Linked DNA regions of Homo sapiens: regions 2, 3, 4, 5, 6 and 7 are each linked to region 1. The links are contacts of gene promoters, found by promoter capture Hi-C in blood cells and fetal thymus (Javierre and others, 2016). All regions are on one chromosome and are shown on one strand. The core of a region is centred on a gene start or on the middle of the fragment in contact, and the rest is flanking DNA. Distances in the headings are between cores, read along the strand shown. Region 1 holds the start of NUP214 (nucleoporin 214). Region 2 holds the start of GTF3C4 (general transcription factor IIIC subunit 4). Region 3 holds the start of TTF1 (transcription termination factor 1). Region 4 overlaps TTF1 (transcription termination factor 1). Region 5 overlaps SETX (senataxin). Region 6 overlaps SETX (senataxin). Region 7 overlaps SETX (senataxin).

What was found. The method cuts DNA at HindIII sites, captures the fragments that hold promoters and counts their contacts. A CHiCAGO score of 5 or more calls a contact.
Region 2: a contact is called between a fragment that was not itself captured here and the fragment with the promoter of NUP214 in region 1, in 2 of 17 cell types (total CD8 T cells and non-activated CD4 T cells). The highest score is 6.4, in total CD8 T cells.
Region 3: a fragment that was not itself captured here is called in contact with the fragment with the promoter of NUP214 in region 1 in 3 of 17 cell types (monocytes, activated CD4 T cells and total B cells); the score reaches 7.1 in monocytes.
Region 4: a contact is called between a fragment that was not itself captured here and the fragment with the promoter of NUP214 in region 1, in 2 of 17 cell types (monocytes and naive B cells). The highest score is 6.9, in monocytes.
Region 5: a fragment that was not itself captured here is called in contact with the fragment with the promoter of NUP214 in region 1 in 13 of 17 cell types (monocytes, total CD8 T cells, M2 macrophages and 10 more); the score reaches 14.7 in monocytes.
Region 6: a fragment that was not itself captured here is called in contact with the fragment with the promoter of NUP214 in region 1 in 1 of 17 cell types (M2 macrophages); the score reaches 6.0 in M2 macrophages.
Region 7: a contact is called between a fragment that was not itself captured here and the fragment with the promoter of NUP214 in region 1, in 1 of 17 cell types (M2 macrophages). The highest score is 7.0, in M2 macrophages.

Annotation. Positions count from the first base shown.
Region 1 is chr9:131,123,745-131,127,816 of GRCh38, reverse strand. NUP214 (nucleoporin 214) reads right to left here and starts at 2,231. Exons shown (of 36, transcript NM_005085.4): 1 at 2,068-2,231; 2 at 98-293. The coding sequence starts at 2,112. It also overlaps the pseudogene RNU6-881P. RefSeq lists an enhancer at 2,033-2,332. The HindIII fragment of the contact is 3,004 bases long and covers 1-2,263 here.
Region 2 is chr9:132,669,933-132,674,004 of GRCh38, reverse strand. It overlaps GTF3C4 (general transcription factor IIIC subunit 4), which reads right to left and starts at 3,541. Exons shown (of 5, transcript NM_012204.4): 1 at 3,050-3,541. The coding sequence starts at 3,406. It overlaps DDX31 (DEAD-box helicase 31), which reads left to right and starts at 4,022. Exons shown (of 20, transcript NM_022779.9): 1 at 4,022-4,072. The coding sequence starts at 4,071. RefSeq lists enhancers at 389-438, 3,533-3,612, 3,298-4,072 and silencers at 3,253-3,382, 3,803-3,952. The HindIII fragment of the contact is 251 bases long and covers 1,929-2,179 here.
Region 3 is chr9:132,405,819-132,409,890 of GRCh38, reverse strand. TTF1 (transcription termination factor 1) reads left to right here and starts at 3,051. Exons shown (of 11, transcript NM_007344.4): 1 at 3,051-3,101. The HindIII fragment of the contact is 770 bases long and covers 1,611-2,380 here.
Region 4 is chr9:132,381,399-132,385,470 of GRCh38, reverse strand. The region is part of intron 9 of TTF1 (transcription termination factor 1); the gene reads left to right. Among named protein-coding and RNA genes, the nearest start is that of TTF1, 23 kb to the left of the region's middle. RefSeq lists enhancers at 1,584-1,633, 3,051-3,210. The HindIII fragment of the contact is 1,886 bases long and covers 1,301-3,186 here.
Region 5 is chr9:132,346,991-132,351,062 of GRCh38, reverse strand. SETX (senataxin) reads left to right here. Exons shown (of 26, transcript NM_015046.7): 3 at 1,628-1,811. The coding sequence starts at 1,635. Among named protein-coding and RNA genes, the nearest start is that of SETX, 6.0 kb to the left of the region's middle. The HindIII fragment of the contact is 4,966 bases long and covers 1-4,072 here.
Region 6 is chr9:132,327,074-132,331,145 of GRCh38, reverse strand. It overlaps SETX (senataxin), which reads left to right. Exons shown (of 26, transcript NM_015046.7): 9 at 7-94; 10 at 647-4,072. Among named protein-coding and RNA genes, the nearest start is that of SETX, 26 kb to the left of the region's middle. The HindIII fragment of the contact is 436 bases long and covers 1,033-1,468 here.
Region 7 is chr9:132,306,748-132,310,819 of GRCh38, reverse strand. The region is part of intron 11 of SETX (senataxin); the gene reads left to right. Among named protein-coding and RNA genes, the nearest start is that of SETX, 46 kb to the left of the region's middle. The HindIII fragment of the contact is 1,794 bases long and covers 1,381-3,174 here.

The sequences.
Region 1 (4,072 bases), core at 982-3,481:
GTTCATTTTAGTATTAGAATGACTTCTTGGGAAGGAAACACAAGAGCATGCCACCATACTCCTCTCTCTACTTTGCAACATAAACCAGGGAACTTACCTATTTTGTTGGGATCATCTCCGGGTTTATTTTGAATAAGAAGATTTTTAGTAGGAAAAATCTGCAAGCCACTGGCTCCACCAGCGAAGACCAGACCATATTTGTTGGACACAGCAAGCAGACTCGAGCGTTCCTTGGGCAATTCCTCAGGGGAGTCAAAGATTCTCACCTTCTTTAGCGCTCTAAACTGAAAATCCTGTTGTGAAGAATCAAAACGAGATCAATTCAATAAAGAAAGAAATTAAAACATGTTATATTCAGTAGACCCAATTTCAGTACAACAAAAATATGTATTACTGAGACCAAGGTCTGTCTCAATTGTCTTTTTTTCTTTTTTGAGATGGAGTCTCGCTCTGTCGTCCAGGCTGGAGTGCAGTGCAGCGATCTTGGCTCACTGCAACCTCTGCCTCCCAGGTTCAAGCGATTCTCCTGCTTCAGACTCCCAAGTAGCTGGGATTACAGGCACCCGCCACCATGGCCATCTAATTTTTGTATTTTTAGTAGACACAGGGTTTCATTATGTTGGCCAGGCTAGTCTCGAACTCCGGACCTCAAGTGATCCATCCACCTCAGCCTCCCAAAGTGCAAGCTCACAGGCATGAGCCACCACACTCGGCCCTCATTTTTTTCTGATATGGAACACTTCATGAATTTGTCTGTCATCCATGTAAAGGGGCCATAATAGTCTTCTCTGCATGATCCCAATTTTATATGTGCTGCCAAAGGGAGTGCGAGATTACCATCTTCTAAGTCTGTGGTTCTATTAATAAAACCTTTTTTTCTTCTACCCCAGCATATCTGAGGAATATGACACAACCCCATTAGGTGGCTCACCACAGGTGGTGATTCTCAAAAAATAATCACTATTCTAGGACAGCACGGTAGCTCACGCCTATAATCCCAGCACTTTGGGAGCCAGAGGAGGGCGGATCACGTTAGGTCAGGAGTTCGAGACCAGCCTGGCCAACATCGTGAAACCCAGTCTCTACCAAATGATATAAAAAATTAGTGGGGCGTGGTGGCAGGCGCCTGTAATACCAGCTACTAGGGAGGTTGAAGCAGGAGAATCGCTTGAGCCGGGGAGGTGGAGGTTGCAGGGAGCCGAGATCATGCCACTGCACTCCAGCTTGGGTGACAGAGCAAGACTCTGTCTCAAAAAAAAAAAAAAATCACTATTCTAAACATGGTATTACTATGCCCTAAATGCATTTTAGTGATTTATTGTTCACACAGATGCCTAAAATCTTCCTGCAACTTACTTCTTTTCACTATTTAAAACAGATGTAGCCCGTCTGTTGTACCCTCATTCTGTCAGAACCCATATAAGAACTATTAAACACACCATCCTGAAGTTATCCCTGGGGGACTCCCACGTTGCTATCACTGGGACCACTTGGCCCTCCCTTTAGGTTCCTGACTTTAGGCTGATATACCGAGGTCAAAATAGTCTTCCTAGTCCAATCAACTAAAGGTTCTGCAGGATGGATGACCTTCCCTGACTCTACGTTAGGCAAGCCCGTATCACCTTACAGAAGTACTGGGAGAGCAAAGGTCTTAAATGATGCTGGCTTTCAGCCCCGCGTCAAATGTGACTTTAGGGAAATTACTTTCCGAGCCTCAACTTACTCCTCTACGTTAACGACTACTTCGTAGGGCTGCCGCGATGACTACCACAGTGCCTGGCACACAGTCAACACTCAATAAACAGCAGTTATTGCCACTATTGTGACCGCCCCAGGAAGTAGCTAGGGTAACTCAACAGCCGTGCACGAGACCAGGATGGGACTGGGAAACTGCATTCGGTGGGGCTATCACGCCAGCGGCGCGGCAGACGCGCTGGTGAGAGCTGTGAACGCGGTAAACTGTTCAAGCAGGAGGCGGGACAGCCAGCACCGCGCTTCGCCTTTCAGCTGGGCTCCAAGGCAACGCCAGGACTAAAGAAGGGAGGGAGGCCCCGGTTAGTCTCTGACCTTCATCTCCCGCTCGGGAATCATGGCATCCATCTCGTCTCCCATCGCGCCGCCCTCAGTGTGTCGAAGCAGCCAACGCTGCCTCCCACGGCCTTGCCCACGGAACCCAGGCCGCTCGACAGCAAACTTCCTCCCCTCAGCGCCAGCGGCGCGCAGTTGACCTCGCATTTCCGGCGCGCTTTGGTGACGTCAAGCTTGGTCAGAGGAAGCCGCGGAACCTAGCGAAGCCGCGCGTTCTTCCGGCCGCCGCTCCCCATTGGCCAGCTCGGGCTGAGTAGTGGCGTGGCCGTGAGGTCCCTGCGCCTGCGCCCTGGATGGTCCTGGTGCCGCTCCCGCCTTCGCAGCCAGCGCGGGCTTACCTAGTGTTAAGTCTCTCTTCTTGGGTGGCCCACGCCTAAGCGACCTATGCTTCTTGTTCTTCTGAAATCTTACAGTTCCCCTTAGATGTAGGTTGGCTATTGGTAGCTTCCGATTCAGATAAGTTTGGAACTTGACAGATGTTTTCGGGGGGCTGCTTTAGAGAGAGGCTTTGGACTATGCAAGGGGAGGAAGGGAGGTTCAGAAAAACGGGGTCGGGGGGTCGGCAGGGACGACTCTTAAAGTGTGGAAGGTGGAAGGCTGGGAGGGGAGATTAAAGGGCACCGAAGACCAGCTTTGTTTGCTCCTATCAAGGTGATCCTTTCCAGAGCAAGAGCCATATCCATGTCTAGTCGCACGAGTTTGTGCCAAGTCCTTTGCAAAAACCTTCAGATGTGGGATCTCATGTAATCTTGAAGACATCTTAGTCGTCCTAGGGGTTATTTATTTAATTGATGAGACGCGGGTGGCTCATGCCTATAATCCCAGCACTTGGGAGGCGGAGACAGGAGGATTGCTTGAGACCAGGAGTTTGAGACCAGCCTCGGCAACATGGCGAGACCCCGTCTCTATAAAAAACAAAACAAAACCACAAAAATTAGCCAGCAGTGATGGCATGCGTATGTAGTCTCAGCTACTCGGGAGGCTGAGGTGGGAGAATTGCCTGAGCCCAGGAGGTTGAGGCTACAGGGAGCTGTGATTGCACCATTGCACTCCAGCCTGGGTGACAGAGCCAGGCCCTGTCTCAAAAAGTAAATAAAAGGCCGGGCGCGGTGGCTCACGCCTGTAATCCCAGCACTTTGCGAGGCCGAGGCGGGCGGATCACGAGGTCAGGAGATGGAGACCATCCTGGCTAACACGGTGAAACCCCGACTCTACTAAAAATACAAAAAATTAGCCGGGCGCGGTGGCGGGCACCTGTAGTCCCAGCTACTCGGGAGGCTGAGGCAGGAGAATGGCGTGAACCCGGGAGGCGGAGGTTGCAGTGAGCAGAGACAGCGCCACTGCAGTCTGGCCTGGGCGAAAGAGCGAGACTCCGTCTCAAAAAAAAAAAAAAAAAAAAAGTAAATAAAAATAGGCTGGGAGCAGTGGCTCACGCCTGTAACCACAGTACTTTGGGAGGCCGAGGTGGGTGGAACACCTGAGGTCAGGAGCTCGAGACCAGCCTGGCCAACATGGTGAAACCCCGTCTCTGCTAAAAATACAACAATTAGCCGGGTGTGGTGGCGGACGCCTGTGTTCCCAGCTATACAGGAGGCTGAGGCAGGAGAATCGCATGAACACAAAAGGTGGAGGTTGCAGTGAGCTAAGATTGTGCCACTGCACTCCAGCCTGGGTGACAGAGTGAGACTCTGTCTCAGAAAAAAAAAAAAAAAAAAAAAAAAATATATATATATATATATATATACACACACACACACACATATATATATACACACACACACATATATATATATATACACACACACACATACACATACATAATAATAATTGATGAGGTAAGGGAGGCACAGAGAAGTTGAGAAAATTCTCCAATAGCCCTCAGTCAGAAAGTGGTGGTGACAGGATTAGAATTGAGATCGTCTGGATAAGGCTGACTGATGGTATTAAAGTCCTTCATAGAATACATTTCTGTAGTGAATTATAA
Region 2 (4,072 bases), core at 805-3,304, 1.5 Mb before region 1:
GATGCACAATACAATTCGGTACACAAATATTATCAGAATTTGGAACTATACACAAATGTCTCACTAGATGAGTCACTAAATCAGTAGTCCAATGGGAAAAACAATTCTGACATTCTTAAATCACTATTTCATTGCTTTTCAGATTTATACTGTCCACCTTTATATCATACAATCTTATAAAACAGCTGATAATTAATGTCTGAACTATTACATAACTGCAGATTTTCCTGCAAATTCATAATCTAAATAACAGAATTATAGAGCAAAAGCTTCAAAGGTGTTTAGTACCTAGCTTTCTAACAGTGCTACACTAAAACTGTCATCTGCGCTGCAGACTGTCCACCATTTAGGTTAGCGCGAAGGCATGCTGCACGGCACCGAGCAGATTTAAATCCACAGACTGCCAATGGGTGGAGTCATCAAAGTGCTGACACAGACTTCTTTACATTCCTACCGTCACACCAGTTTTAACCCACAGAGGGCTCTTGTAGAACTGCAGGGTCAACTCAGCATTCATTCACTTCAATCAGTCTAAAAAGACTGCTAAATGACTGATGGTTTATGTGATGTGCATATTAAAAAAAAAACAACAGTACAGAAGGGGAAGATGTTACTAATTAATTTCATAGAAGCCATTTGTCAACTATAAGAGAGCTATATAAGGATTTCCTGTTACTAGTTAGCAGTTGTGGTAAATGTTAACTGAGGCAAAATGACAGTCAAAATTTTATCAGAATACTCATGTCCACAACCACGACATTAATCCAGACTCCTACTCCTTCATACCTGTATAACTGCATTATATTTTCTTTCTTTTTTTTTGAGACGGAGTCTGGCTCTGTCGCCCAGGCTGGAGTACAGTGGCGCAATCTTGGCTCATAGCAAGCTCCGCCTCCCGGATTCACGCCATTCTCCTGCCTCAGCCTCCCAGTAGCTAGGACTACAGGCGCCCGCCACCACGCCCGGCTAATTTTTTGTATTTTTAGTAGAAACGGGGTTTCACTGTGTTAGCCAGGATGGTCTCGATCTCCTGACCTCGTGATCCGCTCGCCTCGGCCTCCCAAAGTGCTGGGATTACAGGCGTGAGCCACCGCGCCCGGCCCAACTCATTATATTTTCACCTTGAGCATTTACAGCGTGCCAAGAACTGGGCCAAGTGATTATGTGTGTTTAATCTTCCAAAAAACCTAAACAACGCTTCATTATCCCCCTTTTATAGATAGGCCTATCTTGTGCCAAAGCCCAGTCTCTTCACTTTTATTTTACACTGATCACAACAATCATCTTCTTGCCTCTATCCAGTAATGTTCCTGAACCACAGCAGGTCACTCTATGCTAATGAAACTGTAACAGCATCTTAAAGACTTCCTAGATTGAAGCCAACTTCCTCATACCGACCTTCCAAGTCCACAAACTGGTCTCATCTTACTTTCTCGGACTCTCTAGAAGACCTACTTGAGCTCATGTACTGATCCGTCATTATACAAACAATAATTAATTATGTTCATGACTTAAACGTGTATGCACATGGGATGAATGCCTCATTCCTGCCGCCTGGAATGCCCTTTCCTTCCTTCCTCTTACAAACCAAACACTACCTTCTTTAGGACTGCTGCAGATTCACCACCAGATGACCTGCCCCATAAGTCTCTCCCCTTACTACTCCCTCCTTTCTTTACATTCTCTCTGCTAAGGTATTCGATGTCTACTATACTGACATACATACTTTCCTTGAGTTGCTGTGCGGATGAACATCCTTGGAAACAGTTAAATTCCTTTACAGCAGAAGATACACCTTTTAAATCACCTTTCTTCTGCCTCCCTCCTTTTGTATTTCTCAATTTCATAGGGTTGCATCTGTCTATCTGATTTGTTTACACTTGAACAAATGTGTTCATATCTTCTTCAAGAAGATCTTAGAGGAAGCTTAGTCATACAAGCTGACTAACAATCTAACAACAGAAAGATGTTTGAAACTTGAATTAAGTATGCTACAAAGTGATGAGGGTTATCTGCACCCTACCTATAGCTAATGACTCATATTTTCAATGGTTTTCCAAAATAAGAGTTTACGAACACATAAACATGTTCTCTATGTGCGGATACACATCTTTACAGTGCTTATCACTACCTGACAGGACCTTATCATTTGTGCTTGACTTGCCAAAGAATGTAAGCTTCATGAGGGCAGGGGTTCTGTTTTGTACACTGCTTTATTTCCAGAACATGGGGCAGCACCAAGCAGAATGGTATTCAAATATCTATTGAATGTATGAATATACACTGACAGTTCACATGTAAGCGTACACCTCTATCAAGGATATATGGAAAGTTTTTACACCTCTAAGCAACTAAAAGGAACGCTATGGCTTACTACTTGACCTTGCGCTTGAAGTTTAAGATAGGTAGTTGTTTCGAATCTTTATTTTCATTCAACATCCCAAAGATGTTTAGCTAGTAAAGAAAAACTAAAGTACAAACCCCGAGATCCAGTATTTACCCGTTTGCCCAAGGAGAGGCGAGGACCATTCATAATAAAGTCACTGAAACAATTAAGACAATGGATGGGACCAGTTTTTCTTTTCTGAAGCTAAAGAGGCGCGAGAGGAGGACACACACAGTAGACAAAGCCAGCCAAGAACCTCGGAAAGTCGGCCCCAAACAATAGCAGCAACGACAGAGGCAGGCCCCGGGTTGGATCTACAGGGGGTGGAGTCTCAGAAAGCACCATCGAGTAACCCGCTCCATGTGCGGGCCCGACGGAGGGGCGAAGGAGGGGTTCCTGGGACTCAACTCCGGGAAGCCCCCTGGGTGTGTACCTGTGTTTGCGGCGGCGGGTGACCTGGGGAAACAGGGTGCAGACAGCTGCAGAGCTTTTCTTTTTTTTTTTTTAAGCTGTGGTAACCCTGGCTGCTTAATAAATCCCCAGCGCTCGGTGCGAAGAGGGAAATCCCCGGACAGAGTGTGGGATCGGATTCCCCTGGGACGGATGATGCGGCCGCGAGAGGGGGACAGGGGAAGACCCCAGGGATGGCGGGGGATGACTTACTTTGAGGAGACAGCTGTTGAGCGGTGCGGGCACCGAGGTGCGGTGGATAACCAGGTCCTGGCCCGGGTTGTGCACGTCGCAGATGAGCTCCAGCACAGCGATGCTGCGGGCCGTGGACACAGACACGCGGTGGTCCTCGGACCAAGCCAGCGGTTCCAGGCCGCTCACCGCATACTGCAGCTTCACGGCCGGCTCCCGCCGAGTCACCATGAGGCGGAATGCAGCGCTGGGCCCCGGGGCCGCGTCCGCTGCTGGCTCCTTCCCGCCCGCCTCGCCGCCCCCCTCTCCCTCCTCCTCCCCAGACGGCGCAGGCCCGTCGTCCGCGGGCCCCACCCGGGCCTGGTCGGCCGTGTTCATCTTCTCTCAGGTGCAGAGGTCGGACGCCCTGGCGCTCCACGCAGTCGCGCGACCACCTCCCGGACCGCCGCCGCCACCCCCAGCGCCCTCCGCGGCGGTTTTCTCCCCTCAGGCCCCGAGCGCCGCCGAGCCAAGAAGGACCCCGCCGTTGCCAGGCAACGCGGCCCTACCAGGTGGCCAAGGAACTGCCTGTCCAGAAAAAGGACAGCGAGCGGGGAGCCCCGAGGACCCCCTTTTCCCTGCCCAGGGATTGAGCTCCAGAGCCTGTTAGGGAGCTACCCAGACAGGCTTTAGTTCCTAAAGTGCTGAGGAAACGCACGGGGCGGTAAAGGGGAGGCTCGTCGGTGAGATGGCGCCGGATCTCGCTTCTCAGAGGCATTCAGAGAGCTTCCCCAGCGTGAACTCTCGGCCGAATGTAATTTTGCCAGGCCGCGAGGGACGCAGAGAGGGGCTGCCACCAGGCGGGGGCACGCGCGGTAGTCTTGTCCCTACCCGCCCGGTGCCGCCGTCCCCGGCTCCCCTCGGGACGAGTCCGTACAGCTGGAGCCGTTCCGGACCCGGAAGGGGCGGTGGCGCAGGGTCCTCGCGCGTCCCACGTGGGGTCCCGGGCCCAGCAGTCTGCGCACCGGGCTCGCTGCTGCACCACGCGTCACCCACGCAGACCAT
Region 3 (4,072 bases), core at 746-3,245, 1.3 Mb before region 1:
CTACCAGTGTGGACTTGTTTGGAGTTTTCCTGAATCGATACAGGAGAACCGAGAATCTCCAGTGGGTTGCGTTCAAAGCGGCGTGGCTCATAGAGGGTCATTTACATTTGTCTTCCAAGTCGAAGACTCCATCCTCTGCTCACCCCCATTCCACTCACAACCCCTCCCCACCTCTGCTCTTTGCGCCACACACACACCTGAGACAGAGCACTAAATGCATTCCAAGCCTGATGCTGATGCTGACCCACTGGGAGGACTCGGGCAAGTCACCCTCTTGGATCCTAAGGGCTTTTTTTCTTTTTTTCCTGTGAGATGGGTGACAAGGAAACGCTAGAGTTGGATTACATCAATGGTTCCCAAATTTAAGCAACAGAATGAAGGGAAATTGAAAAATACAGATTTGGGCTGGGCTTGGCTGCTCACCCATGTAATCCCATTGCTTTGGGAAGCCTAGGAGGGAGGATGGCCTGAGCCCAGGAGTTTGAGACCAGCATGGGCAACATGGTGAGGTCTCATCTCTACCAAAAATTAAAAAAATTACCCAGGTGTGCTGGCACACACCTGTGGTCCCAGCTATGGGGGAGGCTGAGGCAGGAGGATCACTTGAGGAGGTTGAGACTACAATGAGCCGTGTTTCGGCAACTACATTCCAGTCTGGATGACAGAATGAGACCATGTGCCAAAAAAAGAAAAACGAAGATTCACAGGACTCACCCCAGACTCACTAAATCAGAATATCTGGAAATGGCATCTGAGGCTCTCCTTTTTTTTTTTTTTTTAAGAGACGGAGTCTTGCTCTGATAATGACATGAGCCACCTCACCAGGCCAGATGCTGCATTTTTAAAAATCCCCTTACCCACCCACCCACAACTTGGTGAAAAAGTTCAAACCTACAGAAAAGTTGAAAGTCGAAAGAAGAATACAATGAAAATACATATAGGCTTCACCTAGATTCGGTTAGATTTTGAAGGGAAGGGGAGGGTTAAAGAAAGAGTGGCGGCTCTACAGCAAATTCAGGCTTTATGTCCAGCATGAGACCTACAGAGGTGGGAGACCAGCTTAATGCCAGTGCCTACCGCTGCTTACAGGCTGGAGAAATTATAGGCCTGGGCGGGGAGGGGCCCGGTGGGTATGGCCTGCTGCCCGGGAAGATGTTGATAAGGTATTCCCATGATGAGGCAGTTTGGCCCTTGTTCTGGTGGAACGTGATGTTCCTGTCACTTTCTCCCAGCAGAATATGATAAGAGGCAGGCTGTTTCTCACTGCCTGAACCCCCGTGGAATGTTTCACTTTAAGCAAGGTCTGCAAAATGGCAGGGGGCTTACAAAATGGTGCAGTTTGGACTAACAGATTCACCCGTCCCCAGCACTGGTCACATTTTCTTGCTCTCTCTCTGTGAGCATGCACATACACACATTACAGAATCACCTGAAAAATATCTGTCAACACCATATTTAACCCTAAGTACGTCATCATGTAGCAAGGACATTCCCATGTGTAACTACAATGTCATTATCATGTCCGAAGATTTTAATGTGATACAATAGTGTTTAATATAAAATCCATTGCAAAGTTGAGACTCTGCATTTGAAAAAAAAAAAAAAAAGCTTCCCAGGTGATTGGTGCAGTTGGAGGAGGATTGGAAACCACTATTGGAGTTTTCCTGAATCGATACTGGATGATATCTAATCTCTCCTCTAGTGCCAGCCTTTTGTGGGTTCATTCATGCATCACTAGCACCACAAGGCTCTGGGTAAGTGGGGTCACCACAGAACACGTGACACCAATGACGGACCTGGACTTCAAGGCCTTCCATATCAACAGTGGACAACACCACATTTACAGACTTCTCCAGACGGAGCTCCAACTGCACGTCCACATCCCAGAGCAGCCCTTGCATGGCAACATGAGTACATACATAGGCTCATCGTTTCTCCAACCTGCTTCCCTTCCAGACTTTCACGGAAGCATAGTTTGTGCATTTTTTAATCAAAGCCACTTGGCAGATCACATAGAAGTCAGGTGGAACAGTGAGGGGCAAGATAGTGGAGTAGTAGAAAGAGCATAGGTCTGATTTCTGGCTGGCCCATTTAAGTCACCTTGGACAAGTTACTGTAAACCCAGGTTTCTCATCCACAAGGTGGGGCTAATAATACCTCATTACAAGGATTAAGTGAGAAAACTTGTTGCCTATATCGTATATGTTCACTATCCAAAAAGGTTAAACGTTTGGTTGGTAAATATAATGGCCTCGAATTGATGGCCAGGTTAAAGCTGCCCTTTTGGCTAAGTCTCTTCAGGACTCTGTTGAAATGGGAAGACTGGGATAGATCTCCAAAGCTCCTGCTAACTCTAAACTTCTGAGACTTCATCCAAGCTTAACATCCATCAGCCTCTGCACCAGATAGCCCCTGCAGACCTCTGACTTCCTCTCCCACCCCCTCCCCTGCATTCACATGCATTCACTTAGGCTGGGCGTGTGCGACCTGTCTGTCACCCTGTGGGTTCACTGTGTGGATTCACTCTGTGCTCCAGCTGCTCTGGCCTTGTCCCAGGTCCTCCAGCAACCAAGTTCAGGACTTTTGCACTCACTTCCAGCCTGGAACACTCTTCTGCCTAGATTTTTTGCCTGCCCTTTCCATTTAGAACTCAGTTCAAATGTCACCTCCTCAGTGAGCCCTCTCTTACATCTAAAGTAGCACCCACCGTCCCCTAGTCACTCTCCATCACGTCACCCTGTTTTATTTTCCTTACAAGATAATCTGAAATTATCTTAGTTGATTTGTCATCTGTCTTCCCAAGTTGTTCCTGGAGTTCACCAAAAACTGGAATAAATGGAATGCACGCATGCATTAGTACGTCAATGGAGGGGGATTCTGTCCTACTTTCTTCGTTTCAGGAGCACTCTCTACCCCACCTGACGTCTAAAGGACCCAGAAGGAAAATGGGTAGGCAAATGTGCGCGCCTCCAAGGCCTAGCGGCAGCCGTGTTACCATGGCAGCGTGACGCCGAGGGGGCCGGAAGGCGACGCACTACTACTTCCGCTTCCTCAACAGCAGCACTTCCGGGTTGGGAGAAAGGTGGCGGCGCTTTCGGAGGGTAAGTTGAAAGCGCCTTTGTTGTTTCTGTTTTTCAAAATGCGCGCGTAAAAACTCAGCGTGGGGTGGTGGGTTTCCCCGTCTTCTGGGAGACCCGCCTTTTGGCCTGAGGTCTCCAGGCCGCGGTCTTTGCCCCAGGCCTTATCTCGGGGAAACTGAGGCTTGGGTGTTTTTTTTTTTTTTTTTTAAAGATGGAGTTTTGCTCTTGTCGCCCAGGCTGGAGTGCGGTGGCGCGATCTCGGCTCACTGCAACCTCCGCTTCCTGGGTTCAAGCGATTCTCCTGCCTCAGCCTCCCGAGTAGCTGGGATTATAGGCGCCCGCCACCAAGCCTAGCTAATTTTTGTATTTTTAGTAGAGACAGGGTTTCACCATGTTGGCCAGGCTGGTCTCGAACTCCTGACTTCAGGTGATCCACCCGCCTCGGCCTCTCAAAGTGCTGGGATGACAAGCGTGAGCCACCGCGCCCGGCCGCGGCTTGGGTCTTTGGGAGTGAGAAGATGCAGAATTCACATCTGGTTAGTTCCTCCAGTCTCAGCCCTGGAGCGCCCACCCGGGAGCAGAGCGGGGTCTCTCTCGCACCCCAAAGGCGGTGAGAGAATCCGGGACCAGGTTTGGGCACGTACCTGCAGAGCGGGAAGTGTATGTTCTGAGTAAGGGGGGATAAATGCATATCCGTTCTCAATATGTATCGAGCACTGACTGGGGAGCCATTTGGGAGCAAGATGGCCAGGATTCCAGCCCTCAAGAAGCCGATCATATTATAACTGCCAAAAGTGCAATGGGGAGCAGCTGGTTGTTGGGAAACACTGTTAACCAGAAAGATGAGACCGGCTAAGGAGTTAGAGAGGTCCTCTTGAGAAAGTGGCTTTCATACTTGGACCAGTTAAAGGGCAGAAAGGTAATGCGGAGGAAGAGCTTTCCTGATGGAATGGGCTGTTTTTGCAAAGTTCCTGAGACGAAAAGGAAGGTAG
Region 4 (4,072 bases), core at 994-3,493, 1.3 Mb before region 1:
GGGTGCGTGTGCAGGCCAGACTCCCACGCCTCAGGGGACTTCAGACAGTTGACAACTCAGCACACGCTCCAGACATCCAGGAGTTCCAGTTACCTTTGTGTACCCAATTTGGAACTTTGTAAACACTAGCAATTCTCTGGTTTTCAGCCCAGCTCTCACTTCAAAATCATCTGGGGAACTTTTAAAAAATACCAGTGCCACGTGAATGGGATTGGTCTGGTGTGGGGTCTGGCTTCGCATGAATGGGATTGGTCTGGTGTGGGGTCTGGCTGTCAGGATTGTTCAGAGCTCCAGGTGACTCAGATGTGTTACCCTGCCGAGACCCCGTGCTTTAGCGCTGGTTAAATGACTTGGTCGGTTCCCAGTTAGAACGTTTTAGTTGTGTGTAACAATTCAAATACAGAACTGAATATCATGCCCCACCCATAAGGAAAAAGGACTTGACTGTTCAGTTTGATTTTGCTGTTTTTCTGGAATAGGTAATAGATTACGTAGTCCAGAATTAAAGAAACGTAGGCTGGGCACGGTGGCTCTTGCCTGTAATCCCAGCACTTTGGGAGGCCAAGGTGGGCAGATCACCTGAGGTCAGGAGTTCAAGACCAGCCTGGCCAACATGGTTCAACTCCGTCTCTACAAAAATACAAAAATTAGCCAGGCATGATGGCAGGTGCCTGTAGTCCCAGCTACTCAGGAGGCTGAGGCAGGAGAATCGCTTGAACCCAGGAGGCGGAGGTTGCAGTAAGCCGAGATCATGCCATTGCACTCCAGCCTGGGCAACAGAGCAAGACTCCATCTCAAAAGAAAAGAAAGAAAGAAAGAAACCTGAAAGGAAACACAGTGAAAAGTGTCCCCTTACCACTCACCAGCCACGCGTAGCCCTACAGGAAACCAGTATCTATTTTCCGTAGATGGTTTATGCAAAATGTCTGCAGGATCTGAGTGATGTTCTGATGGCTAATGTTGGCTATTTATACCTACTCTCTTTTGTTACTGCTTGAATAGGAGTTACCAGAGATTGTCTTTTCAAAGCACCAGCTTTGATTGCGTTGACCCTATCTTGTGATTATTCTAATGTCAGCTCTTTATCACGCCCTCCCTTCAGCTCTCTTTGAGTTTATTTTGCTGCTGTTCTTCAACTTCTTGAGATGGGTTCTTAGCTCATTTTCCATTTTTCTTTCTTTGTAATATACATTTAAGGCCATATGTTTTCTTCTAAGTACTGCTTTATTAGCAATGCCCAATTATTTTTTTCAGAAACTTTATTAGGAAAATTTTAGACAGATACAAAATAAATGAAGCTTCATGTACCCATCACCCCAGTTCAGCAACTGTCAAAATCCAGCCGTCCTTATTAAACATCTACATTCACTCCCTCCAATTACTGTTATCTGTTTTGGTAAATTTTACATACTTTGCAGCCTTAGTACCATTCAAAATTCAAATAATTCTAGTAATTCCATTTCTAGAAATACATTCTACAAAACAACTTCACACATACATGAAATGACTTGTATACAGAGTAACTGACTGCAAAAGGCCTGTTAATAGGGGACTGGCTATATATGTATTTTACCCATATAGTGACATTCTTTATAGCTACAAAAAATCATGAGAAAGCCCCTCGGTGGTGGGGCAAAGAAAGCGCCAAGATACAGTCTTGGGTGAGGAAACACTGCGTGGTTGCAGGGTGGTGTGCCAGCGCCACAGAACAGGAAAGCTGCAATGTGTGTGTTTATTCGAGACTTCCAGTCTCTGTGCTCTGGACCAAATAAATCAGACCAGCCCTCCCTCCAGCCCACCTGCCACCGAAGACACCCAAGAAAGGCAAATGAAATGTATGCAAAGTCTCTTAAAGGCTTCAAAAAGCTAAACAAGTTGCAAGAGTAACAGAAAGAACCCCGCATCCCCTTTACCCATAGTCGCCTCTTCTGAACATTCTGCTACGTTCACTTTATCATCCCTCTCTCCCTCCTCCAAGGGAATACGGTTTTTCCCATAACCATTCAAGAGTTAGTGGCAGATACCACTTCCCAAGCAAGGATGTTATTTTACATAACCATAGTACAATCGAGAATCAGGAAGTTTCACATTGATATAGTACACCCTCTAAAACATAGTCCACATTCAGATTTCACCAGTTGTCCCAGTAATGTCCTTGATAGCATTTTCCCCCTTTAATAATTGTTCCATTTCCTTAGTGTCCTTTTTTTTTTTTTTTTTGAAGACAAGAGTCTTACTCTGTTGCCCAGGCTGGAGTTACAATGGTGTGATCTCAGCTCACTGCACCCTCTGCCTCCCAGGTTCAAGCAATTCTTGTGCCTCAGCCACCTAAATAGCTGGAATTAGAGGCATGCACCACCCTGCCTGGCTAGTTTTTTTTTTAATTAGTTAATTTTTTTTTTTTTGAGACGGATTTTCACTCTTGTTGCCCAGGCTGGAGTGCAACAGCGTGATCTCGGTTCCCTGCAACCTCCACCTTCCGGGTTCAAGCAGTTCTCCTGTCTCAGCCTCTGAATAGCTGGGATTACAGGTACCTGCCACCATACCTGGCTAATTTTTGTATTTTTAATAGAGACAAGGTTTCACCATGTTGGCCAGGCTGGTCTCAAACTCCTTACCTCAAGTGATCCACCCACCTCAGCCTCCCAAATTGCTGAGATTACAGGCGTGAGCCACCACACCTGACTTTTTTTTTTTTTTTTTTTTTTTGTATTTTTAGTAGAGATGGGGTTTTGCCATGTTGCCCAGGCTATGCTTGAACTCCTGGCCTTAATCCCTCTCAAAGTGCTGGGATTACAGACGTGAGCCACCATGCCCGGCCTTCCTTACTGTCTTTTAATCTATGAAGATCGTCCATCTTTGCTGTTGATGGTAGTGAAATTTTGGAGGAATACAGGCTAGGTGTTTTGTAGAATGTCCGCAGTTGGCACTTGTCTGGTATTTCCTCTTGAGGAGATTCAGGCTGTGTCCTTCGGGCAGGAGTACAGCATATTCCTGATGTTTGCTATCACTGCATTACGTCACAAGGTACATAATTCTCGTTTTGACTTTTTTTTATTATTTAGCTAAGGCAGCATCTGCCTCTTTTCCCCACTGTATAAAAATACTGGTTCTTCCTTTGGTGGTAAGAAATGGCTGTGGGAAGACATTTTAAGACTATATAAAGATCCTGTTCCTCTTTAAGCTTCTGTCAGTTTCCTTGTGGTTTTCATTTGCATTTCTCATGTGAGAAGTGAGATTGAACATGGCTCTTGTGTTTATAAGCTGTCTCTCTTTCCCTTCACTGTGAGCCTTCACTGCACATAGCTCTTGCATTTTAATCAGTTCCTGCGATTGGAGGGCCCACCACTCTCGATATCTCAACTTACTGCTTGCTACGCAAGGGAGAGCTGGGCTGCAGAGCACAGGCCCTCTACGTGTTGCCGAGCATCATGGGGCTCGGGGATCAGTGACTTTCAGATGCAGGGATGTTGAGGGATTGTTTGGCCTTTGGTTTTGGAAGGTAGACAGTGGGGTGAGGCTGCTGCAGCCTGGCTGACTTCCAGAAGTGTGGCTACTGGTGTGAGGTCGCCATTGGTCCATTAGGAAAGATTTTGTTTTGTTTCTAGTCAATATTCTGCGGAACCATTAGGGAGGGTTTAAACTGGTTCTGGTGGTTAGTTATTTATGGTTTGGGATTATAACCAAACAAGAAAGGACAATCCGTCTCTTCCTTCTTGAATGTGGAGAATTGGAAATTCTTAGTCCAGGCCCTGCCAGGACTCACAGATACATGCCGTGGTCCCAAAGTCTTTTCTTTTCTAGCTCATCTGAGGGGCAGGGTGCCCACTCTTCAGCATCATAGGCCCCAAGCAGGGAGGGTGCCAGGTGCTTTGAAGGAGGTGACGCTGATGTGCACCCCACCAGCTCCCATCTTGAGAACGACTTACATTGACAAAGCCCTTTATAATGTCAAACCACTTTTTAAAAATTCAACTTTTCGGCCGGGCGTGGTGATTCACGCCTGTAATCCCAGCACTTTGGGAGGCCAAGGCGGGTGGATTGCTTGAGGTCAGGAGTTTGAGACCAACCT
Region 5 (4,072 bases), core at 1,011-3,510, 1.2 Mb before region 1:
CTGCAGAAATACATTGAAGACCTTATCCCATGTTACTTGGCATTTCCTAGTCTGCAGTGCCCTTGTACTAGAAGGCATTAATAAAATGTAATTGAGTTAGAGTTTGTGTCAGGAAAGGGCGGTACTCTGCGGCTATCACTGCATACTCTTTTTCCCCCCCACGTCGATGAGAACTGTGTAACTCATGTTATCCTTTTTCTCTGCTTTCAGGAAGCTCCTCATGTAGAACTTAGTGAAATTAAATTTCTTCTAAAGAAGTTTTGATTTTGTTTTTTGAAATCTCATTTTTAAATGTCCTTTTGTGTGTATGTACTTTAATGTTGAAAGCTACCCTAAATTCTTTTTAGAACCATGAAGAAAGTATACCTCTTCAAAAGCATAAGTAAAAGTAATATTTAATAAATTTTAAAAAATCAATTCATATGACAATGTATTTGATTATGCTTATGCATTTCTAAATAATTATTTAATTGTGGGTATAAGAAGAAATTAAAGAATTTTAAAAAATCACTTTATTTTAGGAACTAGCTTTATGCCACAGAAGCCTCAGCAGCCAAGCCTAGTTTCTGTTGAGATGTTTTATATTTCCTGTTGGTAAAGATTATGTATTCTGAATTTTAGGGTGACGGTGATACTCAAAAATCTCACACTGCCATGTTTCCATTCCCACATACTCAGTGTCTTCACTTAGGTTTCTTTTGTTTGTTTGTTTTGAGACAGAGTTTCACTCTGTCACCCAGGCTGGAGTGCAGTGGCGCAATCTTGGCTCACTGCAACCTCTGCCTCCCACGTTCAGGCAGTACTCCTGCCTCAGCCTCCCAAGCAGCTAGGATTGCAGATGCGCACCACCAGCTAATTTTTGTATTCTTTTTAGTAGAGATGGGGTTTCACCATGTTGGCCAGGCTGGTCTCGAACTGCGGACCTCAAGCAGTCTGCCCACGTCGGCCTCCCAAAGTGCTGGGCTTACAGGCATGAGCCACCGTTCCCAGCTTACTTAGGTTTTTTAACCTCCTTCTAACCTTTCTCCCTGAGTGGAGAGTTTTTAAACATTTTTAAAAACTGCCTCTCCTGTGAATTTTATTACCACCAATATATTGTGTCTCTCTTTATGTACTGTATGTTTATCTGAGCTTTATATCTAAAAAGAGGAGGGCTTTTTCACGTCCCACTAACTAGTTTTAGATCTCTTTGAGGGTGACATCACTCCTGATGAGAATGCTGAGCTAGGTCCATTCAGTTTATGAAATGAACTTAAGTTTGTAGTTGGTAACTTTTTTCCCCATTCCAAAATCTGTACTTTGAAAATATTGGTAAGTCTGGGTCTCTATATATTTTCTATCGGTACTGTGTTGTTTTGAGCCTTCTCTGTAGCACAACTTTATGTTGCCTTATGATACTTATTCCTTATACAATGCTTTTATTTTTCTGTATTTTTCGTATGTCAAAAATAGAAGGATTTTTTTAGTTTAGTGAATCAGTGATTGATAAGCCAGCCAGCAGAAGATTTGGGTTTTAGTGACACATTTTAAATTGAAACCAGGGTCACAAGTTGAAAGTGTACCTATTCTTGACACACAGTAGGTCTGAAGTTGGTTTTCTTCTTGATGTCATCTTTTCTGGCTGTAGGTACAGAATGAGCACATGTTGTTGGTGTACGCCAGGTGGTGCTTCCACCATTGACTTCCTAAAGCGCTATGCTTCCAACACTCCGTCCGGTGAATTTCAAACAGCCGACGAAGACCTCTGCTACTGCTTGGAGTGTGTGGCTGAGTACCACAAAGCAAGAGATGAATTGCCATTCTTGCATGAGGTAAAATATATTAGATGGGCAATATTTTTCAGAGCTTGATAGCTGGGAAGAGAGTAAGTTTGAACTCCGTTGGAAGTATTCAGAGAAATGATGATACGATTTCAACTTTGTGGGTTTTTTTTTTTGTTTTTGTTTTGTTTTTGTTGTTGTTAGAGATGGAGTCTCACTCTGTCACTCAGGCTGGAGTGCAGTGGAGTGATTATACATATATCATTTTACACATTCGAGTATATTCTTAGGACAAATTCCTGAAAGTGGAAGTGCTGTCTCATGATTTTCCATGGGCCACATGGGTTTTCATAGTTTGTTTTGCTATGTTTTGGAGACAAGGTCTTTGCTCTGTTGCCCAGGCTGGAAGTGCAGTGGTGCGATCACGGTTCACTGCAGCCTCAACCTTCTGGACTCAAGCCATCCTCCCACCTCATCCTCCTGAGTAGCTGGGACTACAGGCATGTGCCACCATGCTCTGCTAATTTTTAAAATTTTTTTGTAGAGACGAGGTCTTATTATTTTGCCCAGGCTGGTCCTGAACTCCTGAGCTCAAGTGATCCTTCCGGTTTGGCCCCCCAGTGTTGGAATTACAGGCATGAGCCACCATGCCTGGCCGACTTTGAAGGCTAATATAAGTCAAGTACCTAACTCATTGCCTGGTATATACTAGGTGCTGAGTAAATGTTTATCACGGATGGAATTGAAACCTGGATCAGAATTTTATGATCTGTTGCTTTTAGTCACATTGGTATAAAATAATTTAATGAAATAAAGTCATTGGGAGGGGATTTGTTTCATAATTTTTTGGTCAGTGCTATAATACATGCATGTATCTGAGTATCTGAATGGCCTGGGTTTTTGTTAGTGGGTTGTTTTTTTTTTGTTTTGTTTTTTTTTTGAGACAGAGTCTCACTCTCTTGTCCAGGCTGGAGTGCAGTGGCGTGATCTTGGCTCACTTCAACCTCTGCCTCCCAGGTGGGTTCAAGCGATTCTCCTGCCTCAGCCTCCCAAGTAGCTGGGACTAAAGGCACGTGCCACCACACCCGGCTAATTTTTTATTTTTAGTAGAGATGGGGTTTTACCATGTTGGCCCAGCTGGTCTCAAAACTCCTGACGTCAGGTGATCTGCCCACCTCGGCCTCCCAAAGTGCTGGGATTACAGCTGTGAGCCACTGCGCCTGGCCAGGGTTTTTTTTTTTTAATTGGTAATAATAACTTCTTTTTTTCTTTTTTTAATGGGCAAATGGCATAAACCTTTAAGGGCAAGCATATTTTCCAGTCATGATAACAAAAGTGAAAGATATAATTCTAAATATTTGGCTTTGAATATTTGGTTTATTTATTGATGAAAAACAGAACGTAGACCATAGAGATATATACAGTATATAGAGGAGAGGATGATTAGTAATGGACTTGTGTTGAGAAACGTGCACTTTATAAAGTTTTCTAATTATGAAGCTATCCAGCGTCTTTTATACCACAAGCTGCACTAAGGTAGTTAGCTATGGCTAGAACATAGAAGGGAAGACATAGAAGGGCCTCGGTTTTGCATTTGACAGAGAGGCTCCAGCTTCTCTTTTTTTTTTTTTTGAATGTAGTTGATAGGGATGTTGAGATATTTATAGAAAACTTCTACAAGAGAAGTGTTTAAGGCTGAGTGCTGTAGCTTACACCTGTAATCCCAGCACTTTGGGATGCTGAGGCAGGTGGATTACGAGGTCAGCAGTTTGAGACCAGCCTGGCCATCATGGTGAAAGTCCGTCTCTACTAAAATACAAAAATTAGCCAGGCGTGGTGGTGGGCGCCTGTAATCCCAGCTACTCAGGAGGCTGAGGCAGGAGAATCGCTTGAACCTGGGAGGCCAAGGTTGCGGTGAGCTGAGACCACGCCATTGCACTCCAGCCTGGGCGACAGCGAGATTCTGTCTCAAAAAAAAATAAAAAGTGTTTAAACATAGCATACTATTTTTTGTTTTCTTGTTTTTTTTCGTTTGTTTGGTTTTTTGTTTGAGATGGAGTTTCCCTGTTGTTGCCCAGGCTGGAGTGCAGTGGCGTGATCTTGGCTCACTGCAACCTCCGCCTCCTGGGTTCAAGCGATTCTCCTGCTTCAGCCTCCCGAATATGGGATTACAGGCATGCACCACTACGCCTGGCTATTTTTGTATTTTTAGTAGAGACGAGGTTCCTCCGTGTTGGTCAGGGTGGTTCTGAACTCCCGACCTCAGGTGATCCGCCCACCTCAGCCTCTCAAAGTGCTGGGATTACAGGCAG
Region 6 (4,072 bases), core at 1-2,500, 1.2 Mb before region 1:
TTTAAGGACCAAGTTAGAACCGGAGTCCTATTTGGATGATATGGTGACTTGCAGCCAGATCGTATACAATTATAATCCTGAAAAGACCAAAAAGGTATAAAACACTTTGAAAATTCAGATGCTATTTTATTGCCTTTATATTGTGTAGACTATTTTGTATAATTTGTTGAGTTGCAGATTTTGTGATATGTAGCTGTTCTCAATCTACTGCTATGTAAAAGCCCTTCTCATTGAACAGCAGATGTATTGTGTGTTGGGGAAGATGGACTCTAACTACAGTATGCATACTTTGGAAAATTAACTTATAAGTACATTTAGGGAAGATGGAAAGTTTATGGGGACATACATGGCATGACTAGAAATCAAAACTAGCTAGTGGACAGAAGGTGAGAGTACATAAAGGTGTTACCAATTTGTCTTTTTATGAAAACTCAAAATTCAATTTATATTTTCACTTTCTTGGGAGTTAGGTGTATTACGATTGTGATATAATTATATGCCACAATTATACCATTGTATAGCATAATAATGATGTGGTAAACCAAAATAAGAGAGTTGAGAAACGTATTTTTCTTAACGACTTGGGTGTTGAACCTGTCATAAGTGGTGCTTATTTATCTGAACATCAGCATTTCTTTCATTTTAGGATTCTGGATGGAGAACAGCCATTTGCCCAGATTATTGTCCTAACATGTATGAAGAAATGGAAACATTAGCCAGTGTACTTCAGTCAGATATTGGTCAAGACATGCGTGTTCATAACAGCACATTTCTATGGTTCATCCCTTTTGTCCAGTCCCTCATGGATCTTAAGGATTTGGGTGTGGCTTACATAGCACAGGTTGTTAATCATCTGTACTCTGAAGTCAAAGAAGTCCTCAACCAAACAGATGCTGTGTGTGACAAAGTCACTGAATTTTTTCTTCTAATTTTGGTATCAGTGATTGAACTGCATAGAAATAAAAAATGTTTGCATTTGCTGTGGGTAAGTTCCCAGCAATGGGTGGAAGCCGTCGTCAAATGTGCCAAGCTTCCTACCACTGCGTTTACACGGAGTTCTGAGAAATCATCTGGAAATTGCTCCAAAGGAACAGCAATGATATCTTCACTGTCATTGCATTCCATGCCATCTAACTCTGTACAACTTGCTTATGTGCAGCTGATTAGAAGTCTCCTTAAAGAAGGTTATCAGCTTGGGCAGCAGTCTCTTTGCAAGCGATTCTGGGATAAGCTCAACTTATTCCTTAGAGGAAATTTATCTCTAGGTTGGCAGTTGACTAGTCAGGAAACCCATGAGCTACAAAGTTGCTTAAAGCAAATTATTAGAAACATAAAATTCAAAGCACCTCCATGTAACACTTTTGTGGATCTGACTTCTGCATGTAAAATCTCTCCTGCATCTTATAATAAAGAAGAAAGTGAACAAATGGGGAAGACGTCTAGAAAAGATATGCATTGTTTGGAAGCTTCCAGCCCAACATTTTCTAAAGAACCAATGAAAGTGCAAGACAGTGTATTGATCAAAGCAGATAACACTATAGAAGGTGACAATAATGAGCAAAATTATATAAAGGATGTGAAACTAGAGGACCATCTCTTAGCTGGGTCATGCTTAAAGCAGAGTAGTAAAAACATTTTTACTGAAAGAGCTGAAGATCAAATTAAAATAAGTACAAGGAAGCAGAAGTCTGTAAAAGAGATCTCTTCATATACACCAAAGGACTGTACTTCAAGAAATGGTCCAGAAAGGGGATGTGACAGAGGAATAATAGTATCAACACGTTTGTTGACTGATTCTAGCACTGATGCTTTGGAAAAAGTGTCCACATCGAATGAAGATTTCTCTTTAAAGGATGATGCTCTTGCTAAAACCTCAAAACGAAAAACTAAGGTACAGAAAGATGAAATCTGTGCAAAGTTATCACATGTAATAAAGAAGCAACACAGGAAGAGTACTTTGGTCGATAATACTATCAATTTAGATGAAAATTTGACTGTATCTAACATTGAGAGTTTCTATTCAAGGAAAGATACAGGAGTTCAGAAAGGAGATGGTTTCATACACAATCTTTCTTTAGACCCTAGTGGTGTTCTGGATGATAAGAATGGAGAACAAAAATCTCAAAACAATGTATTGCCAAAAGAGAAACAATTAAAGAATGAAGAATTAGTTATTTTCTCTTTCCATGAAAACAATTGTAAAATACAGGAATTTCATGTTGATGGTAAAGAATTGATCCCTTTTACAGAAATGACCAATGCTTCAGAGAAGAAATCATCTCCCTTTAAAGATCTTATGACTGTACCTGAATCAAGAGATGAGGAGATGAGTAATAGTACCAGTGTGATTTATTCTAACTTGACAAGAGAACAGGCCCCTGACATCAGTCCTAAATCTGACACCTTAACGGATTCTCAGATAGACAGAGACCTTCACAAATTATCTTTACTAGCTCAAGCCAGTGTTATTACGTTCCCATCCGATTCACCTCAGAACTCATCGCAGCTGCAAAGGAAAGTAAAAGAAGATAAAAGATGTTTCACAGCTAACCAAAATAATGTTGGAGATACCTCCCGTGGACAGGTTATTATTATTTCAGATTCTGATGATGATGATGATGAAAGAATCCTGAGTCTTGAGAAACTCACTAAACAGGACAAAATATGCCTTGAGAGGGAACATCCAGAGCAGCACGTTTCAACAGTTAATAGTAAGGAGGAAAAGAATCCAGTAAAGGAAGAAAAGACAGAGACTCTTTTTCAGTTTGAGGAATCTGATTCTCAGTGTTTTGAGTTTGAAAGTTCATCTGAAGTGTTTTCAGTTTGGCAAGATCATCCAGACGATAATAATTCAGTTCAAGATGGTGAGAAAAAATGTTTGGCTCCTATAGCCAATACTACAAATGGTCAGGGTTGTACAGATTATGTATCTGAAGTTGTTAAAAAAGGAGCAGAGGGCATTGAAGAACACACAAGACCACGGAGTATTTCTGTTGAAGAATTTTGTGAAATTGAAGTAAAAAAGCCTAAGAGAAAACGATCTGAAAAACCAATGGCTGAAGATCCTGTGAGGCCTTCATCTTCTGTCAGAAATGAGGGCCAGTCTGATACTAATAAGAGAGATCTTGTGGGAAATGATTTTAAAAGTATTGATAGAAGGACTTCAACTCCCAATTCACGTATTCAGAGAGCCACTACGGTTTCACAAAAGAAGTCTTCAAAGCTTTGTACTTGTACAGAACCCATCAGGAAAGTTCCAGTTTCTAAGACCCCTAAGAAAACTCATTCAGATGCCAAAAAAGGACAGAATAGAAGTTCAAATTACCTAAGTTGTAGAACAACTCCTGCTATAGTGCCGCCAAAGAAATTTCGTCAGTGTCCTGAGCCAACTTCAACAGCTGAGAAACTTGGCCTGAAAAAGGGTCCTCGTAAGGCATATGAGTTGTCCCAGCGGTCTTTGGATTATGTAGCTCAATTACGTGATCATGGCAAAACTGTTGGAGTAGTTGATACCCGAAAAAAGACTAAATTAATTTCTCCTCAGAACCTGTCTGTCAGAAATAATAAGAAACTTCTGACTAGTCAAGAACTTCAGATGCAAAGGCAGATCAGACCCAAATCACAAAAAAATAGACGAAGACTTTCTGATTGTGAAAGTACAGATGTTAAAAGAGCAGGGTCACATACAGCACAGAATTCTGACATATTTGTACCAGAATCTGATAGGTCAGATTATAATTGTACAGGAGGAACTGAGGTACTTGCCAACAGTAACAGAAAACAGTTAATAAAATGCATGCCTTCTGAACCAGAAACCATAAAAGCAAAACATGGGTCTCCAGCAACTGATGATGCTTGCCCTTTGAACCAGTGTGATTCTGTAGTGTTAAATGGAACAGTACCAACAAATGAAGTAATTGTCTCCACTTCAGAAGACCCTCTGGGTGGAGGTGATCCAACAGCACGTCATATAGAGATGGCAGCTTTGAAAGAAGGAGAGCCTGACTCCAGCAGTGATGCAGAGGAAGATAACTTATTTTTAACCCAAAATGATCCTGAAGATATGGATTTA
Region 7 (4,072 bases), core at 1,028-3,527, 1.2 Mb before region 1:
CGTCACACTCAGTAGATAGATGAAGAGGAGGAGGGATTTGTCTTGCTCTCTCAGGAGTGGCAGAGATGGAGAAGAATCTATGAATTAGTGGACCTGTGCACTTCAAACTCATGTTCAATTGTCAGCTGTACATTGAGATGCAATAGCCACAAAGCAGAAAGAAAGCGGATGTTTGGCAGGAACTTATCATTTTCACACATGGTTTAGTAACAGTGAGCCATTTTTATTAGGGAATGATGAGAACTGTCCTAAAATCTAAGTTCCTAGATACCAGCCAAGGGGCAGCCTCGCAAGCAGGTCTTTTGAAGGATAGCATGCCTGCTATGTTAACTCTTTTCTGCACAGCATGTTATGAATAATGCTACTATGATCACCCATGTATCTCTTAGTGTTCTTCTGAATGCATTTTTGTTAAGTTTATATCCAGAAGTAGATTGTGGAATATTAGGGTGTGTATAAGTTCAACTTCAGTAAATAATGCCAAGCCTATTGTACAAAATTATATTCCACCAGCAGTATATGAGAAGTTGCATTTTTCTGTGTCTTCAGCAACACATTTGTATAGATTGTTTTGAGATTTTTAGCTGTTGGGCTGTGTGTATTGATGGTGTTTTGTGGGCTTTTGTAATGTCCTCATTAGGGAGATTGAGCATCTTTTCACATATTTAGTAGCTGTCTCAGTAACCTCTTTTGGAAAGTGCCTGTTCAAGGCTTTTGGTCATTTTCTGTTGTCTTTTTTTCAGTTGATTTGTAGGAGTTCTTTATATAATCTGGGTAGAAGTCATTTCCTCACTTTGACTTACATACTGACTCTTTTTAGTGATGTCTTAAAAATTTCTTTTTCATTCTTATTGAGAATTGCTTATTTGAACATAGTAAATACATCAGTCTTTTATTGTCAGTGCTCTGTGTCCCGTTTCTTAAATGAAGAGTAAGAAATCTTTCTCTGCTACAGGTTGCAAATTACATTCTCTTGCCTTCCTTTGCCCCCACCCCCATCACCCATGGATCAGGATCTCTCTTACCTTCTAGAACAAAGGTTAGCAAACTACAGCTCGCAGATCCACCTACCCCATGTATTGATTTTGTATTGCCCTAGGGTACATTTTTTATGTTCCCCCTTTTTTTTTTCTTTCTTAAATATAGAGATGGGGTCTTGTGCCGTTGCCCAGGCTGATCTCAAACTCCTGGTCTCAAGTGATCCTCCTGTGTCATCAGCCTTCTGAAGTGCTGGGATTACAGGTGTGAACCACCTCGCCCAGCTGGTTTTTACGTTTTTAAAGCTCTATAAAAAAGAGTATGTAACAGGCATTATGTGTGGCCCCACAAGCCTATCTGGCCCTTTACAGAGGAAATTTGGGAACCCCTTTTCTAGAAGCTTTCTTGTTTTGTTTCTGACTGAGGCATGTGGGTTGGGTTCCATTTTTTTTTTTTCCCCCAAGTAGAGGTCTGATTATCCCAGTACTATTTATTGAAAGACCATTTGTGCTTCACTGCACTGCTATGTTTGTCATGCGTCTGGAGTCCACTTAATGTCTGGGCATCAGTCTGTTCTTCTTGAGATCATTTGCCTACCCTTGGGCTCATATCACATTGTTTACTTAATCTAGCTTTATAAGAAGTTTTAATAACTCACAGAGCAAGTCCTCCTACCTTGTTTTGTTTTGTTTGTTCTGTTTTTTGAGATGGAATCTTGCTCTGTCGCCCAGACTGGAGTGCAGTGGCGCGATCCTGGCTCACTGCAACCTCTGCTTCCCGGGTTCAAGCAATTCTCCTGCCTCAACCTCCCGAGTAGCTAGGACTACAGGTGTGCACCACTATGCCTGGCAAATTTTTGTATTTTTAGTGGAGACGGGGTTTCACCTATTGGCCAGGCTGGTCTGAAGCTCCTGGCCTCAAGTTATCTGCCCGTCTTGGCCTCCCAAAGTGCTGGTGTGAGCCACGGCGCCTCACCCCTCCTACCTTGCTCTACTTTTTGAGTGCTTTGGCTATTCTTGGCCCTTTGCATTTCCATATAAATTTTAGAGGAAAAGAAGTGGAAATTTGGGAAGAATTGACAACTTTTAATACTTTCTAATTCATGAATAAGGTATATATCTTCAGTTATTTAGGTTAAATTTTTCTCAGTGTTTTATAGTTTTCTGTGGAGAGGTTTTGCATGTCATCTTCAGTTAGTGACTATGTTAGTGACTATCTCTAAAAAATAAGAGCTTAAAAATAAGTCATACCTAAAAAGTTACCAATAATCCCTTCATATCAGTCAGTGTTCAAATTTTCAGTTATCTCATAACACTTTTTTTCAGCTTAAGATCCAAAGTAGTCCACCCAATGGCATTGGTTGATAGGTCTTTTTAAACTAGAATTCTCTCATTTTCTTCCCTTGCAATTTTTTTGTTGAAAAATTAGTTTTATAGAGTTAATCATGGTCTGGATTTTGCTGATATTGCATCCCCTTGGTGGTGTTTAGAATGTGTCTCTGTCCTCTGTGTGTTTCCTGTATATTGATACCTGGAACTAGAGGATTGATCCAATTCAGGTAAATTTTTGTTACTTGTTTTTGGCAAAACTATTTTATAGTTGGTGGTATGTTCCATCAGCAGCAGCAGGTACGTGGTATCTGGTTTCTTTTTCTGATAATCACAGCTGCTTGTACTTAGTCACTAATTCATTAAAGGGAGCAAAATGGTGATACTTTAATCATTTTATGTTAGCTGGAATACTTCTCTAGAGAGAAAATTCTCTACTACTATTTGGTTACTCAGTAGCATAGTTTATAAAGGAAAGGCAGTATAAATACTTGCTGCTTGACCAGTTTTCAGAATAACGAGTTTAATTCACTAGTAGTCCGGGTGCGGTGGCTCAGGCCTGTAATCCCAGCACTTTGGGAGGCCGAGGGGCAGATCACCTGAGGTCAGGAGTTCGAGACCAGCCTGGCCAACATGGCAAAACCCCGTCTCTACTACAAATACAAAAATCAGCTGGGCATGGTGGCGCATACCTGTAGTCCCAGCTACTAGGGAGGCCGGGGCAGGAGAATCGCTTGAACCCTGGAGGCGGAGGTTGCAGTGAGCCGAGATCGTGCCACTGCACTCCAGCCTGGGAGACAGAGCAAGACTCCATCTCAAAAAAAAAAAAAAAAAATCACTAGTAAGTGCCAGTGGTGACTGGTAAGCTTAAAAAAGAACTATGAGTGCATGGATTGGTGTGCTTGTGTTTCAGTCCATTTCAGTCAGCTCCTTCTAGTTGGCTCTGAGGCTGTGTGCTATGACAAGATGTTCCAAGTTCATCATATATATTGTTTTTATCCCATAACTGAGCTTACAGTTTTCTAAGGAGCCTTGCTATATTTTAGTTGAAAGCAGTATTTCAACACCAATCTGGGCATGCTATATGCTGTTAGTGGGTAATACATCTAAATATAAGGATACATAAAGATTGTAAGTAAAAGATAACCATGCATATCCAAATTAAAAAAAAAAAACTTATTTAGCTCTGTTAATATCAAACTAAATAGACATTAAGGCAGAAAACATTATTATTGTTGTTATTATTATTATTATTTTTTTGAGACAGAGTCTTGCTCTGTCGCCCAGGCTGGAGTGCAGTAGCTGATCTTGGCTCACTGCAACTTCTGTCTCCCGAGTTCAAGCAATTCTCCTGCCTCAGCCTCCTCAGTAGCTGGGATTACAGGTGCTCACCACCACACCCAGCTAATTTTTGTATTTTTAGTAGAGACTGGGCTTTGCCATGTTGGCCAGGCTGGTCTTGAACTTCTGACCTCAGGTGACCCGCCTGCCTTGGCCTCCCAAAGTGCAGGGATTACAGGCGTGAGCCACCATGCCCAGCTCAGAAAGCATTATTTGAGATAAAAAGGGAGTATTTTGGTTCAACAGAAGATATGACAATTCTGAATGCATATACCTAATAAAATAGATAAAGAGCTGGGCACAGTGGCCTGTGCCTCTGTAGTCCCTGCTACGTGGTAGGCTGAGGCAAGATCACTTGAGCCCAGGAGTTTGAGGCTATGCTGTGTTATGATCACATATGTGAATGGTCACTGCACTCTAGCCCA